4 separate regions of the Homo sapiens genome follow, and regions 2, 3 and 4 are each linked to region 1. Evidence: promoter capture Hi-C in 16 types of primary human blood cells and fetal thymus (Javierre and others, 2016). All regions are on one chromosome and are shown on one strand. Each heading gives the region's core, a stretch centred on a gene start or on the middle of the fragment in contact. The rest is flanking DNA. Distances are from core to core; before and after follow the strand shown. Region 1 holds the start of ABCA1 (ATP binding cassette subfamily A member 1). Region 2 overlaps FSD1L (fibronectin type III and SPRY domain containing 1 like). Region 3 overlaps FSD1L (fibronectin type III and SPRY domain containing 1 like). Region 4 overlaps FSD1L (fibronectin type III and SPRY domain containing 1 like).

The links. The method cuts DNA at HindIII sites, captures the fragments that hold promoters and counts their contacts. A CHiCAGO score of 5 or more calls a contact.
Region 2: a contact is called between a fragment that was not itself captured here and the fragment with the promoter of ABCA1 in region 1, in 1 of 17 cell types (M1 macrophages). The highest score is 5.6, in M1 macrophages.
Region 3: a contact is called between a fragment that was not itself captured here and the fragment with the promoter of ABCA1 in region 1, in 1 of 17 cell types (M0 macrophages). The highest score is 6.4, in M0 macrophages.
Region 4: a fragment that was not itself captured here is called in contact with the fragment with the promoter of ABCA1 in region 1 in 1 of 17 cell types (M0 macrophages); the score reaches 5.8 in M0 macrophages.

Annotation. Positions count from the first base shown.
Region 1 is chr9:104,926,754-104,930,112 of GRCh38, forward strand. It overlaps ABCA1 (ATP binding cassette subfamily A member 1), which reads right to left and starts at 1,402. Exons shown (of 50, transcript NM_005502.4): 1 at 1,182-1,402. LOC105376196 (a long non-coding RNA gene) reads left to right here and starts at 36. Exons shown (of 3, transcript NR_188620.1): 1 at 36-1,157; 2 at 2,755-2,971. RefSeq lists silencers at 1-35, 1,372-1,561 and enhancers at 712-771, 1,092-1,171. The HindIII fragment of the contact is 9,744 bases long and covers 1-3,359 here.
Region 2 is chr9:105,509,138-105,512,480 of GRCh38, forward strand. The region is part of intron 9 of FSD1L (fibronectin type III and SPRY domain containing 1 like); the gene reads left to right. Among named protein-coding and RNA genes, the nearest start is that of FKTN, 47 kb to the right of the region's middle. The HindIII fragment of the contact is 3,339 bases long and covers 1-2,952 here.
Region 3 is chr9:105,458,802-105,462,277 of GRCh38, forward strand. It overlaps FSD1L (fibronectin type III and SPRY domain containing 1 like), which reads left to right. Exons shown (of 14, transcript NM_001145313.3): 2 at 2,719-2,814. Among named protein-coding and RNA genes, the nearest start is that of FSD1L, 13 kb to the left of the region's middle. The HindIII fragment of the contact is 1,507 bases long and covers 813-2,319 here.
Region 4 is chr9:105,478,217-105,481,376 of GRCh38, forward strand. It overlaps FSD1L (fibronectin type III and SPRY domain containing 1 like), which reads left to right. Exons shown (of 14, transcript NM_001145313.3): 6 at 1,138-1,160. Among named protein-coding and RNA genes, the nearest start is that of FSD1L, 32 kb to the left of the region's middle. The HindIII fragment of the contact is 1,865 bases long and covers 970-2,834 here.

The sequences.
Region 1 (3,359 bases), core at 152-2,651:
GGCACCACCTCGGCCCAGCTTCCCCATCTGCGCCCAGGCAGAAGCTGCCCCGAGAGACCAGCAGCAACGGTCTGGAAGATGGGGCTGCAGGGAACGTGGGAGAGGGAGGATTGGGCACCCCACCTCCGGGTCTCCGCAGGCTCTCCTAAGTCTTGTTTTTAAAAGAAACAAAACTCGGCCGCGCGCGGTGGCTCACGCCTATAATCCCAGCACTTGGGGAGGCCGAGGCCGGTGGATCACCTGAGGTCGAGGGTTCGAGACCAGCCTGGCCAACAAGTTGAAACCCCGTCTCTACTAAAAATACAAAAATTAGCTGGATGTGGTGACGCGCCTGTAATCCCAGCTACTCAGGAGGCTGAGGCAGGAGAATCGCTTGAACCCGGGAGGCGGAGGTTGCAGTGAGCGGAGATCGTTCCATTGCACTCCAGCCTGGGCGACAGACCGAGACTTAAAGGAAAGAAAAAAAAGAAAAAGAAAAGGAAACAAAACTCGTCCGCGCTCTGCGCCAGGGACACCAGCTCAGCTGAGCGCACGGAGACTGTAGGCAGGACCTCCCTACCCCTCAGGTCAAACAAAGACCCAAGGCCTCTAGTGAGCAATAGCACCACGGACCGTTTGGGACACCTCCAACTCGAGTTCCCGGATTCACAGTCCGGGACTGTGCCGCTCCAGTCCCGGGGAGCATATAGCCAATTCCCAGGTCAGAACAGACCAGCTTCTTAAGAACCGAGTGAAGACTCAGTGCTGGCATTTGTCTCCGTAGGTACTGGCCGACCTGCAACCAGAAGGGTTTCTAGCCAGCTCAGGGCCCTCCGAACAAAGCAGCGCTCGGTGCCGGACCTGCAGCTCTCCCCACCCGGCAGCAGCGCCCTCAGCACGCCCGGGAACCCCCGACCCCTCTGAGCCCGGGGTACTGCGCCCGGGTCTCCACGCCCAGAGATGCTCCCCGGTCTCCACCGTCGGGCAAGCCCCAAGCGCAGCAGCGCAGAGTCCTGGGGTCACCAGAGCTCGTACTAGGACATCGTCTCCCCATTTAACACCGCCTCCGGTCCCATCTGAGTTGCAAGTGGTGGGGATGTGGGGCTCCGGATCAAAGTCCCCGAAACCGAGCACTTCCCGAAGCCTCCTTGGCCTCGAAACAAAACAATAACGCCCAAGTAAGTCACTGGAGAGCCTCTTACCTGTTTTCCACTTTTGTGTTTGCGTCTCTTTCTCCTACCCCTTGACAAGCCTTCCGGAGAAGGGGAGAAAACAGAACCGGGGAAAAAACAAGGAGCAAAGCGCCCTGAGAACCGGCTCTGTTGGTGCGCGGAGCTCCCCGCCCTGCCCTGCCGCAGCCCGGGAGAGAAGGGTCGGCTCGGCTCTGCGGGTCCCGGCCCCACTCACTCTCGCTCGCAATTACGGGGTTTTTGCCGGGACTAGTTCCTTTTATAGATTCGGCTGCACCGAGCGCAGAGGTTACTATCGGTCAAAGCCTGTGCTCTCCCTCCTCCCCGCCCCGTTCCCGGCCTCTGTTTATGTAGTTCAGTCACTCAGCAGAAAGCACGTGGAGCCGGGGCCCGCCCCTTAAACGGGCGACGTTCAGCCGCCCACGACACATCTAGGGAGTTGGGGGGAGGTGGGTGGGGTGGGGGTGGAGGGTACAGCAGGTGTCTTAGGGTCCGCGGTCTGCGTCCCCTTCCCCCGCCCGGGCCCGCCGGCCTAAGACGCGCGGGAAGCGCTGGGCTCGGGGCTGCGCCGCAGACTCTCTAGTCCACGTTCCCGGCAGCCAAGGGCACCAGTGGAATTTGCTTCCTCTAAATCCTGCTTTCCGCAATTTTTTTTTCCTTTGTTAGTTTCCTCAGCCGGAGGGAGGGATTGGGGGAGAGAGAGCTCTAGGCTGAATCTCCCTCAGGACGCCAATCATTTTGTCTTGTCTTTTGTTTCCTTTCAAAGGCCTAGGCTGGGGTGAGGGGAAGGCGGACAGTCCTCTGGGTAATGGGCTGCTTTTGTTTTCCCCCCACAAACCTGGACTTTGATTTTTGATAGGCGACCTACTGCCTTGGAGATTCCCAGCCTGAGCTCCCCAGGTCCCTCAGAGGACCCGAGAGGAACATCTTACTGCTTCTCTTCATAAATTGAGAGGAAGGAGGCCACAAAAACAAAAAAAGAAACAAACAAACAAAAACACAGAACAATATGGACCAGCCCCCTTTTAATTTCATTATATTGATCAGCCTCCCTGTGATAAAAACACAGGACTTGTATTTAGTTTGTATACATTTGTGAAGTGCAGCCAGAGAATTGCAGTCGTGTAAAATTATGTAGCCACTCCAGACCTCCAACTTATCTGTTTGCCTTTGGCTGTAGGGGAGCAAAACTACCCAAAACACTGGAGGGGCAAAAAAAAAGGCAAGAGTAGGAATGCAGGCCTACACACCATATGTCTAAATATTTAAGTCATCCATCAAGCCAACAAACTAAATGTCACCTTATTCTGGCCAAAACTCAGGTCAAACTGTGAAGAGTCTAAATATGAATCTGCCCTGAAGGGCAGATTCATAGAAGACTCAGGACAGACCCGTAGAAGAGGCCCAAGCAGGCCCTGGAAGTGCACGTGGAGGCCACAAGGTCTCCTACCTTGACAAAGATACCTTTGTAGCCACCTTGAAGGGCAGATTCACATTTAGACTCTTCACAGTTTGACCTGAGTTTTGGCCAGAATGAGGTGGCATGAGAGAGCTGCCCCAAGCCTACTTCTCTTCCCACCTCCAGCTCCATCATATTCCAGAACTCCCACCACCTGCATACAGACATTCAGCTGCACAAGCCCCCTCCATGCTACAGTCAACAGGATCTCCAGGCCACGGCTCAAGCCCAGGTACTCACATCAGTGGTTCTATCAACACTCAGGACAGACCCATAGAAGAGGCCCAAGCAGGCCCTGGAAGTGCATGTGGAGGCCACCAGGCAAGGAATTCTGGAGTCCCAGGTACTCATAACTCTGGGTGGCATGGCCCCTTTGCACCATGGACTGTTTGCCCTTAGAAAGGGATGGATCTGAGCTGGGCGCAGTGGCTCATGCCTGTAATCCCAGCACTTTGGGAGGCCAAGGTGGGCAGCTCACCTCAGGTCAGGAGTTCGAAACCAACCTGGCCAACATGATGAAACCCAGTCTTTACTAAAAATACAAAAATTAGCCAGATGTGGTGGCGAGCGCCTGTTATCTCAGGAGGCTGAGGCAGGAGAATCGCTTGAACCCGGGAGGCAGAGGTTACAGTGAGTCGAGATCATGCCACTGCACTCCAGCCTGAGTGACAGAGCAAGACTCCGTGTCAAGAAAAATAAAAAGAAAGGGATGGATCTCAGAAAGGCCAGAG
Region 2 (3,343 bases), core at 33-2,532, 580 kb after region 1:
ATGGTTACAAAACACTTTCAATTCTTTATTAGATAATTAAAGTCATCTTGAGAGATCAATATGCTAGATATTATTGATACCCATATTGCAGATGAAAAAATAGAGTTTTCATATATTAAATGACTTTCCCATGATCCCTAGACCTAGTTTGGAAAGGTGTGAATAAGAATCCACTTCTGAGTTTTGTGCCAGCCCTTACTATGAGCCTGGAACCTAGGTTCTTCTAGTCTCTGAAAGCAATTGGGGTTTAATGAAAACTCCCTAGAGTAGCAGACTTGAATACAGAGGATTTTTTAGATATTTACCAATTTGAAGGTTATAATGCTGGAGACTTTCCTAGTTGTGAGATGGTTATTGACTGGGTTTAATTCCAGAACCAGACTCTACACATTCTTGTAGGCACTTGGGACTTAAGGCATTCCACTGACCTCTAGTTCATATAGCATTTGAATAGGTTTACCTGCCAGAAATTTGATTGGATTTGGAGGATGACAAAAAAAATCATATAATAAAACAAAATATAAGGCCTATAAGTTATTGATGAGACAAACTCAGAAAAATGTTTGCATCACAAAGGTCTGAAATAAAGTCTATCTTGAAGTAATTTGTTTGGATTAGCAGATGTTTCTATTTGAGAACTATAGGTAACTTAGCCAAGGAATGCAGTTAACTCTGTATTACATGTTATCAAACTGAGATGTTATTGTGGTTTCTGTAGAGGTTTTTACCATTTTAAAATAATAGTCATATGTAGGCAGATAATCTTTTCTATATAACTTGAACTGTTTTTAGCCCATCAAGTAAAATTCATTACTATTATTCTTCCTCAAGAGCATCATATTTTTAAAATTTCTTTTGTTTCTTTTCATTTACTGTTCATATTTAATGACCAAAGTTGGACCTAAATGTGGTGAATTATAATTTCTATGCAAATTTCATAGATACAGGAAAATGAATCACTGGCTTGTGGTTTTCTTCCAGCTGGGCTGGCTGCTCCTATTAGCAGTGATTGGATGTTACTGGTCAAACTCTTAATCATGGGGTTTGTAGAGAGAAACTAAGTTGATTCTAGGCCTTTTCAGCACTTCTTCACTGTTGAGTAAACCCTCTGCGGTAGGAATAGACTGAAACTCAACTCTGAGACCCACAAAACAGTGATTCTGACCTTCAGGGAGTTCCAGAATAAAGTTAGACTCCTACATGGCCATGAGTCACAGATTTTCTAGGGTTATTCCATAGCATTAGTGGGGCTACTAATGAGAGTAAGAGCTGCAGAGGAAAAGTCCACATTTTTACCAATGACACACTGAACAGTTGTTTACCAATTTATTTGGCTTGTTGCAGCCTTTTTCAACCAACCAGTAGAAATTAGGGTATGGACAAAAAACTGGAGAGAAAGGAAGAAAGGTGGAGATTGAGTAGTTGAGCCTACCAAAATTTCATATACTTCCACTTAAGGTTCTTGATATGGAAAATAGTGAACATTGTTTACTTCTGCCCTCCAACATATGAAGCACTATTTCTTCTGGCATTGAAATTCTCAGAAGTCATGAGTAATATAAGTTCTTATCACCAGAATATTTAGAGTATATTATTAGTTATTTTCTTGTGAAGGTAAATGATATTAAATTACTAAATCACAAATTATTCTCCAACTTTAATTGATAGCAGCTATGATATAATTTTATAGTACCAAGAAAGCAGCCACTCGCACAAGTTAAACATATGAAACATATCTGTACTCTGATTTTTGGTACTTTGTTTTCACAGACTATTAAAGATACGGGAACCAGTATCTAGTTATATTATAGGACTTATACAAGAGATAGGACCTCACTTTTGAGGCTAGTCTTTTTTTTTTTTTTAACTATAGAGTATTATCTCTGTTACATTAGAGGAGCTCTATAACTTAACTGAGGTCCATAAGGGGTAGTGTCCACAAAGAAAGAGAGATACGAAAATGACACTCCTTAGGCTTGAAATCCATGCCTTTTTGTTTGGATGCTGCAGTATTTAATAAGTATGGTCTTAAGTGGTTTTCAATGGTACTATCTATTTTTTTTTTTTGCCACCTTTGACACCAGTATTGCTGGTGGCCCTTCTCTCCAGCATAACAAACATTAGGGGACAGCCTTAGGATTTCTTCCTTTTTTAAAAAAACAGCCTTAGGATTTTAGCAAGCAGTTGAGAATTGGTGGCACCTTAGAGTTAAATCCAATATTCTTTCTCAAAAATGTAGAAGCTCTCACATGCATTACCTAGTAGCTCACATATAGATGTTAACTTTATTAAGGCAGTTCATTCTTGGAAATGCAGGGTATAAGTTTTACTTAATCCTAACCTTTTGGTAACCTGTCTATTAAGGAATTCTATTTCTGTTTTTACTAAAAAGCTGCATGATTGCTGCATTATCTCTTTTTTCTGTAAGTTCATTTCTGTTTAAATGCAGATGTTGAAAGCTGTGAACTTCCTTGTACTGTATGACATTTACTGGAAGCTCTGTGGTCAGTAGATTTGTATTCAGAATGTTGTTTCATAAATAAAAAACAATGAACAATAGCTCCAATGCATAGTTGAAATTAAAGTGCTCTTTACAGAACAGTAGGGGATAAAAGGATTATTGATTCATTAGGTAAACAGTTATGTATCATCAAACAAAATAAACCTATAGAGAGTCATAGTTCACAGACACACTGAAGCCTTAGCTAAATTAAGTAATATCCATAAGTGAAATAGGGTTCTGTAAAGGGATACTGTATTTCTTAATATATACTAGAAGTTTGAACCTTTGGAGGGAAATAGAACTAACAGGCAGATTAGTTAGTAACTGTGTAATAGCTGATACCTTGCAAGATAGAGATTCCGAGAGTTATATTTTAAGATAAAAGGAATGGTGTGATTAGCCATGAATCAGTACATTCTAATGATTTACCCTCAGTTTCCAAGGAAAGAAGCTTATACCTTGCTTCACTGATTTCCTAAATTCCTAAAGCAGTTCTGAGTAAGTCTTGTGAAAAGTATAGTTAATTCCTCAAAATATTAAATAATCTGGAAGTCATAGTTTTATGGTTTTTTTTTAAATTTATGTGGTTCTTTTCCCTCTGTACTCTTCGTCATGTAAATTATCTATCAGCTGGGCCAGTTTCCTTGTTCTGCCATCACGGCCTCAGTTTCTCTATGTTTGCCTTACTTTGAAACTGACAGTGTAGGTATGAAATTATTAAATATTAGAGTATCAGAGAAAATGTGTATGCCAGGTTCTATAATTTTTTACACTATGTAATTTTATCCTTCTCCTTAATTCTTCCAGTTCCCCTTCCTATTTAGTCATAACAGTCAACTG
Region 3 (3,476 bases), core at 316-2,815, 530 kb after region 1:
CCTCCTGCTGCTATCACTAGAACCATTAAGGGGTAAAATCTATAGAACTTTGTGACTTCACGTAGAGCACAAATTAGAGGAGAGGAGATAGTGATGATGGCCTAGCTTTCTGTCTTCGCTCTTGATTAAATTTGGAGGTCCTGGAGGGATAGACTGGGGTAGAAAACTCGTTGAATTATGATATATTTTAGATCTTTTCTGCTCTCTTTCTCTGCCCTGGCATATTGCCTACCATATCTAGAAAACACTTTTTAAAAACTGCTGGATTTGATGCCTGTTCAGCCAGTCTCCCCTTGTATACCTCCTAGATTAGGCACATACTATCCTTATATACACCTTTTACTTGACTCCTACCACCATAGAGAAAATTTTAGCTTTATGTCACATATGCAAGCTAGGGTCAAGTTTCAGAACTCAGCACATGTAATCCTGTTTCTTTAGTTTTCATATGTTTTGGTGCTGTGGTGGTAGTTTTGTCTTAAATATTCTGATTCCTTGTAACTTGTTTTCCAGTTCTACTGAGCACCAAGTTCCTTAGTGCTTTTTATCTTTATGCCATTTCCACTTAGTTCCAGCCAGTCCCCATTCTTGTGAGGGTCAGAAAGGTTGAAGCCTTGGCCCTCTCCCTGATAAACTTACTATTTTAGAATGCTAAATATGAGCCTTGGATTACAGTCTTTTTCATTTGCTCATCCTCTCTACAGCAGTTGCAGATTAAAGGGCAAGTGGATCAGAGCTTCTGGAGCCTTTGTCTCAGTAGTCTGCCCTTGGGGAACTTTGCGAATATTTCCTTCCTCCTTTAAGCTTAGAAAAGCTTAGCAGAGAGGCAGCATTTTATCTGTATTAGCTAACAAGGTCACATTGGTTGCTATGACTTTCTCTTTATGATCTGAATGGTTGCTTTTTCTGCAGCCAGGTTTACTAATGTATTCGGTAGCTTTGAAAATATAGATGATCTTAAATGCTGGGGTTCCAGAGTCCTCTACAGCTGGCTTGTCCATTCTGATAGCATCTCAGTGGTGTATTGTAGCCAAGGCTCTGAAGCCCTCCTCATCTAAAGATTGCAGTGCGTCCTCTGAAAATAATCTAGGCCTTTAGTCTTTGCAGTTTTGGCATTAGGGTAAAGCAACTTTTCTCAGAATGTGGACCCTTTATCTAGGTGTGTATTACAGACTCTCATGCTGTACTGGAACTCCTTGTTAAATTCAAGAGCTGTAGAGTGCTCTCTCTTCAAAGAATGAGACTGTGTTTCTCAGAAATACTATATCAGCCTTTAAAGACCTTTCTTTCTCATCCACTTTCTGGGGAAGTACAGTATTTTTACAGCCTTAGGCAATTCATATAGGATATCATTCCCCTAAAGGCTTTAACACAGATTGTAGAGTTTCTTTCCAGAAGTATGGCTATTAATACATCTTAGGCCAATACAGTTGAAAAGGGTCTTTCATCTGTGGTAATAGAATTTTGAATGAATTTAAGAGGAATGGTAAAGATAAGATTAACTGTAATCGCTGGGAGTGGTGGCTCATCCCTGTAATCCTTGCACTTGGGAAGCCGAAGTGGGTGAATCACAAGGTCAGGAGTTCGAGACCAGCCTGGCCAGCATGGTGAAACCCCATCTCTACCAAAAAATACAAAAAATTAGCCAGGCACGGTAGCTTGCACCTGTAATCCCAGCTACTCGAGAGGCTGAGGCAGGAGAATTGCTTGAACCCAGGAGGCAGAGGTTGCAGTGAGCCGAGATTGCACCACTGCACTCTAGCCTGGGTGACAGAGTGAGACTCCATCTCAAAAAAAAAAAAAAAAAAAGATTGACTGTAATCTAAGGGTGGTATTTTTTTGGAGGTATGCGATAGTATCATAGAAAATGGAAGGCATTATTCTGATGATTCTTTGAATTTGTCTAACCTGTATGTCAGTTGTCCTTAGGTGCAGTCTTGTTTTTGTTAGCTGCCAACTTTGACGTGGACATTTGCACTTTCTGTGATCCCAAGAAGTCTTCTCTAACCCAAAACATGAGTGAACGGTGTAAATTTCACAGGAGAGAGGAGTGTATTTGTTTCTTCTGTTATGGTATTGGACCCCGAAGTGGTGTTACTTATGTACCAATTTCTTTTGAGAGTTGGTAATTTTAAAATGTCTTTCACCTTCTAGAGTTAATATTTATGTAAATAAAAACTGAGAAATGAGTGAAATTCTGGTAAAGGAAGTTGGTTGTAACATTTTAACTTATATCCACATATAGCTATTATAATTCAAGAATCTGGCATAACATAAGCACATAAAGAAATTCTGGTCTTCCAAGAAAAAAGTTCAGAAAGCTTTTAGGTCGTTTATTTTTAATTGCAAATTAATAAGATTAATAGAGGATCTCTGCCCTATTTCCACTCTTAGAAATATATGGTCTGTTTGGATGACATAGACCTCTTAAGTCTGTATTATCCAGGATGGTAGCTTCTAGCCGTAATGTGGTTTTTGAGCACTTGAAATGTGGCCAGTTTGAATTGAGATATGCATAAGTGTAAAATACAAACTGAATTTTGAACACTCCGTACCAAAAAAAAAGAAAAACTCATTAATTGTTAAATATTGACTACATGTTGAAATGATAATATATTTTGAATCTATTAAATAAAATATTAAAATTAATTTATCCTGTTTTTCCTTTACTTTTTTGATGTGGCTGCTATTGGCTCCTACTGTATTTATATTGGACAGTACTGCTTTAAGGAGAATGAAAACGTTACAGTTGATAAAGCCTGTTTTCTGATCTCTAACATCACTATTGGACCAGAGTCTATTAACTTGCAGCAGGTTGGTAGCTCTTAAAGGAGCAGAGGTTTTAACTTGAAGATCTGATTCAAAATTAGAGCATTTAGATGTCTTTGACTATACTCATTAAAAAACAGGAACATTAAAAAGGTAGGCTTTAGCTGGGAGCAGGGATCATGCCTGTAATCCCAACACTTTGGGAAGCTGAGGTGGGAGGATTGCTGGAGCCCAGAAGTTCGAGACCAGCCTGGGCAACATAGTGAGACCTCGTCTCTACAAAAAATCAAATAATGAGGCAGGTGGATATGGCTTGAGCCCAAGAGGTTGAGGCTGCAGTGAGCTACGATTGTGTCACTGCACTCCCACCTGTGTGACAGAGCCTCAAAAAAAAAAAAAAGGCTTCTCATTAAAATCTTGGGAGCTCAGGTCTTATCTAGTTGGGGCAATAAGTTACAGCTATCTCCAGATTTTTGCTATGTAATTTCTGAAATGCAAAGCTTGCTACTAAACTTAGACCAAAAAAATATGTAAATGGGAAGCTATTTTATGCTAAGGAGATTTTATTTTTTGCTCTGAACTGTATCTGCCTTTTTTTTGGTACCAATGTTTTATAATTTTTTTTGGTGGAAAGTTTTTTTAAGTTTTGTTTTTTTTTTTTTTGAGATGGAATCTTGCTCTGTCACCCAGGCTGGAATGTAGTGGTG
Region 4 (3,160 bases), core at 652-3,151, 550 kb after region 1:
CCTGGGCGACAGAACAAGACTCTGTCTCAAAAAGAAAAAATCTGAGTTCTGTGTTTTTGAGTAGAAAGAGTCCTCAGACCAGAATGTTTTAGGGTGGATATAAAAATGACCAATAATGAATAGGAACAACGTTAGAACTGAAGAAGAGAGGCCACAGAAGCATTGCTACATATATCTAATTAACATTCAAATAAGTTTAATAATTATTAAGTATTACTATGTCCTAAGCATTTTTGCTAGGCACTGGGGATACAGTGTTGAGCAAAACAGCCTTGTCTATGTCTGATATATTGTTAACTGTACTGGTTACTGTGGAGAAAAAAACTTTTGTTGGATATATTGTATGTAAATATAAAAGGGACAACAGTTTTTACTTGTTTTTTATTATTTTGTGTGACCATGCAGCCCCAAGTAAATAGCTGAGTTCCCTTTCTAAACTTGTGCTTGCATAAAAAAAAAAGACAAAAGAGATACCTTATATATAGGTTTAAGTTGGTAGCATGTATGAAATCATCATGGAGAAAGACCCCATTGCTAGAAGTATTTCTCTGGTCTCTTTGTGTCTGAATTTCTGCCATTACAACTTTCTTTGGAGTAAAGGTTTATAGAATTGCAGCCTAGTTGTATTTGTTAGCAGGCAAACTCTGAGAATTCCTTGCCCTATAGAGGCATATAGAGAAAACTTGGAACAACGATTATGAAGTAGTGAAAGAGATCTCTGAAGAAAAATTAGAGAGTAAATTTGACATGTACAAGAAAACCATGAAGGAAGTTGTCCCATGAAGGAGATTGGTTGCTCTAGTTGATGAGTATCAGACTGAATGAAAGTGGAGGTGTGTTTTGATAATCTTAAGGTAAGAATAAAACATTTATAGTCACCTGGAATTTGTTCGAAGTGTTAAATTTTCCTCCTAAAAGGTGATTTTTGTGGGGTCTGGATTTTCTACTATAATTCTAACATCACATGAAAGCTTATGTGAACTATACACATAAATTTTCTATAGTTTGTGTTTTGGTGAATATGAACTAATCTGTTGCAGGGTTTATATCCTAACTTTTCTTGCATGTCACTGCCATTGAAACTTGCATGAAAAGCACTAACTTGCCTTCTTTCTCTTCTCCCTGATTGGCTCCAAGGCTGCCAGACAGATCAAGGATAGGTATGGTATAAAACACATTTTTACTTAAGTATAAATATTGAAGTCAGAAATGAAATTCAGAAATAGTTTTTTAATTAAAATTGTGTTAGTTAAGATAAAAGTACCCAATGACCAAGTACAAAATAAAATGTCCTCTGTGTATTTTCTTGGAATAACCATTGTATCAATAAAATTTTTTAAAAGCATAGTTGTGGATAATTATGTGCTTCAGAAGAATTTCATTTCTGGTGTAGAAATATAGTTAGTTTTAGTTTTAGAACAGTTCTTAATTAGTTGTACTAATGAAAAGGGAACTATTTTGAATAACTTAAAAATATATATTTCTGGAATGTGTTTTTTGTTGTTAAATTTAAATGTAAGTGGGTCTTATTTTCTTTGAACTCACTCATTTTAAGTAGTCCTCAAGAACTAAAGCGCTCCTATTTCACTGCCCTCCTGTTTAACACCTTGTATTCTCATTCCATCCTGTTCCTGGTGCCATCTCTTTCTATTTCTAATGCCACCACTATCTAGTTAATATTCTGTGGGAAGAGAAAATTAAAGAAAATTATTAAAGGTTTTGGTTTAAAAGTTCTTTCTTATTGGTAGAGCCAGGCTTAAGAAAAGGAATTTAGTACTTGTAATGAACATAGATTGCTAAAGGAGTTGCTGGCAACATTTGGATTGCATTAACACAGAAGGAACAGTTTGGATCTGCCTGTCTAGTCACTGAGTATTGTCTGTATTGAGATTATAGCAAGTTTTTTCATCTGAGGGTCATGAGATTCTCTGAAAGGCACAGCTCTTCAAAGTGCCACTCCAAATCCTAGATTAAATTATTCTTCATCAGATAATTCACAAAAATTTTCATTATAGATTATGTGAAAAACAGTGCCTCTATTGTTAATCTTGGCTGACAGTTTTACTTCTGGGTTTCTCTTTTTTTTTTTTTTTTGAGGCAGAGTCTTGCTCTAGCACCCAGGCTGGAGTGCAGTGGTGCGATCTTGTCACACTGCAACCTCTGCCTCATGGGCTCAAGTGATCCTCCACCTCATCCTCCTGAATAGGTGGGACTACAGGCATGTGCCACCACACCCAGCTAATTTTTGTATTTTTTGTAGAAACAGGGTCTTGCTATTTTGCCCAGGCTGGTCTGGAATGCCTAAGCTCAAGCTATCCGCCCAACTTGGCCTCCCAAAGTGCTGGGATTACAGGTGTGAGCCATTGTGCCTGGTCCTGTATTAATTTTTATATTTTTTGTATATTTTACATCAGGCAGTAGCTAAAGACATGGATCATTCTTATAAATCCTGGATCTAGAAAGATGATTGTGAAAGTTTGAAGGTGAAAAATATTAGCTGTGTGAGGAATGGATGCTAGATAGGTCAGTTTTGTGGATAAGGTAGATTTGGGTTGTGTCTGGAAATTGCTATGAGTCATCCATCTTCCTCCCTGGGTATATTATACTTACTGTTTAGCTACCTATCCCACTGCATCCTGCTCTAGTTCCTAATTTTCTGAATTAGAAGTTACTTCCTAATCATGACCTTGCAAAATCTGTCCTTTTTTCAAGATTCTATATGGCTCTTTGCATCACAGAATCTTGTCTGTATCCTTAAACTCTTTGTCTTTGCCCAGATTTGTTTATCAGAATTTAATTTCATGACCAATTTCAATGGCTGTATTCTTCACTGAAGCTTGGGTTTTTTGCGTCTTCTAAGCCAGCCTCTTGGCTTGATTTCATAAGTATCCAGGTGATCTCAGGAATTAGGGTTCAGGCAAACTCTGTGTGTGTGTGTGTGTGTGTGTGTGTGTGTGTGTGTGGTTCTTTTTTTTTTTTTTTTTTTTTGCTTGTTCAAACCCTATAGCATTTTTGTGATCCCCTGCAGAATTTTTACTTCCTGCCCGAGGAACATTTCTGATTCTCAACTTAATTTTTTTTTTTTTGAGACAGAGTCTTGCTCAGTTGCCCAGGCTGGAGTGCAGTGGTGCAATCTTGGCTCACTGCAGCCTCTGCCTCC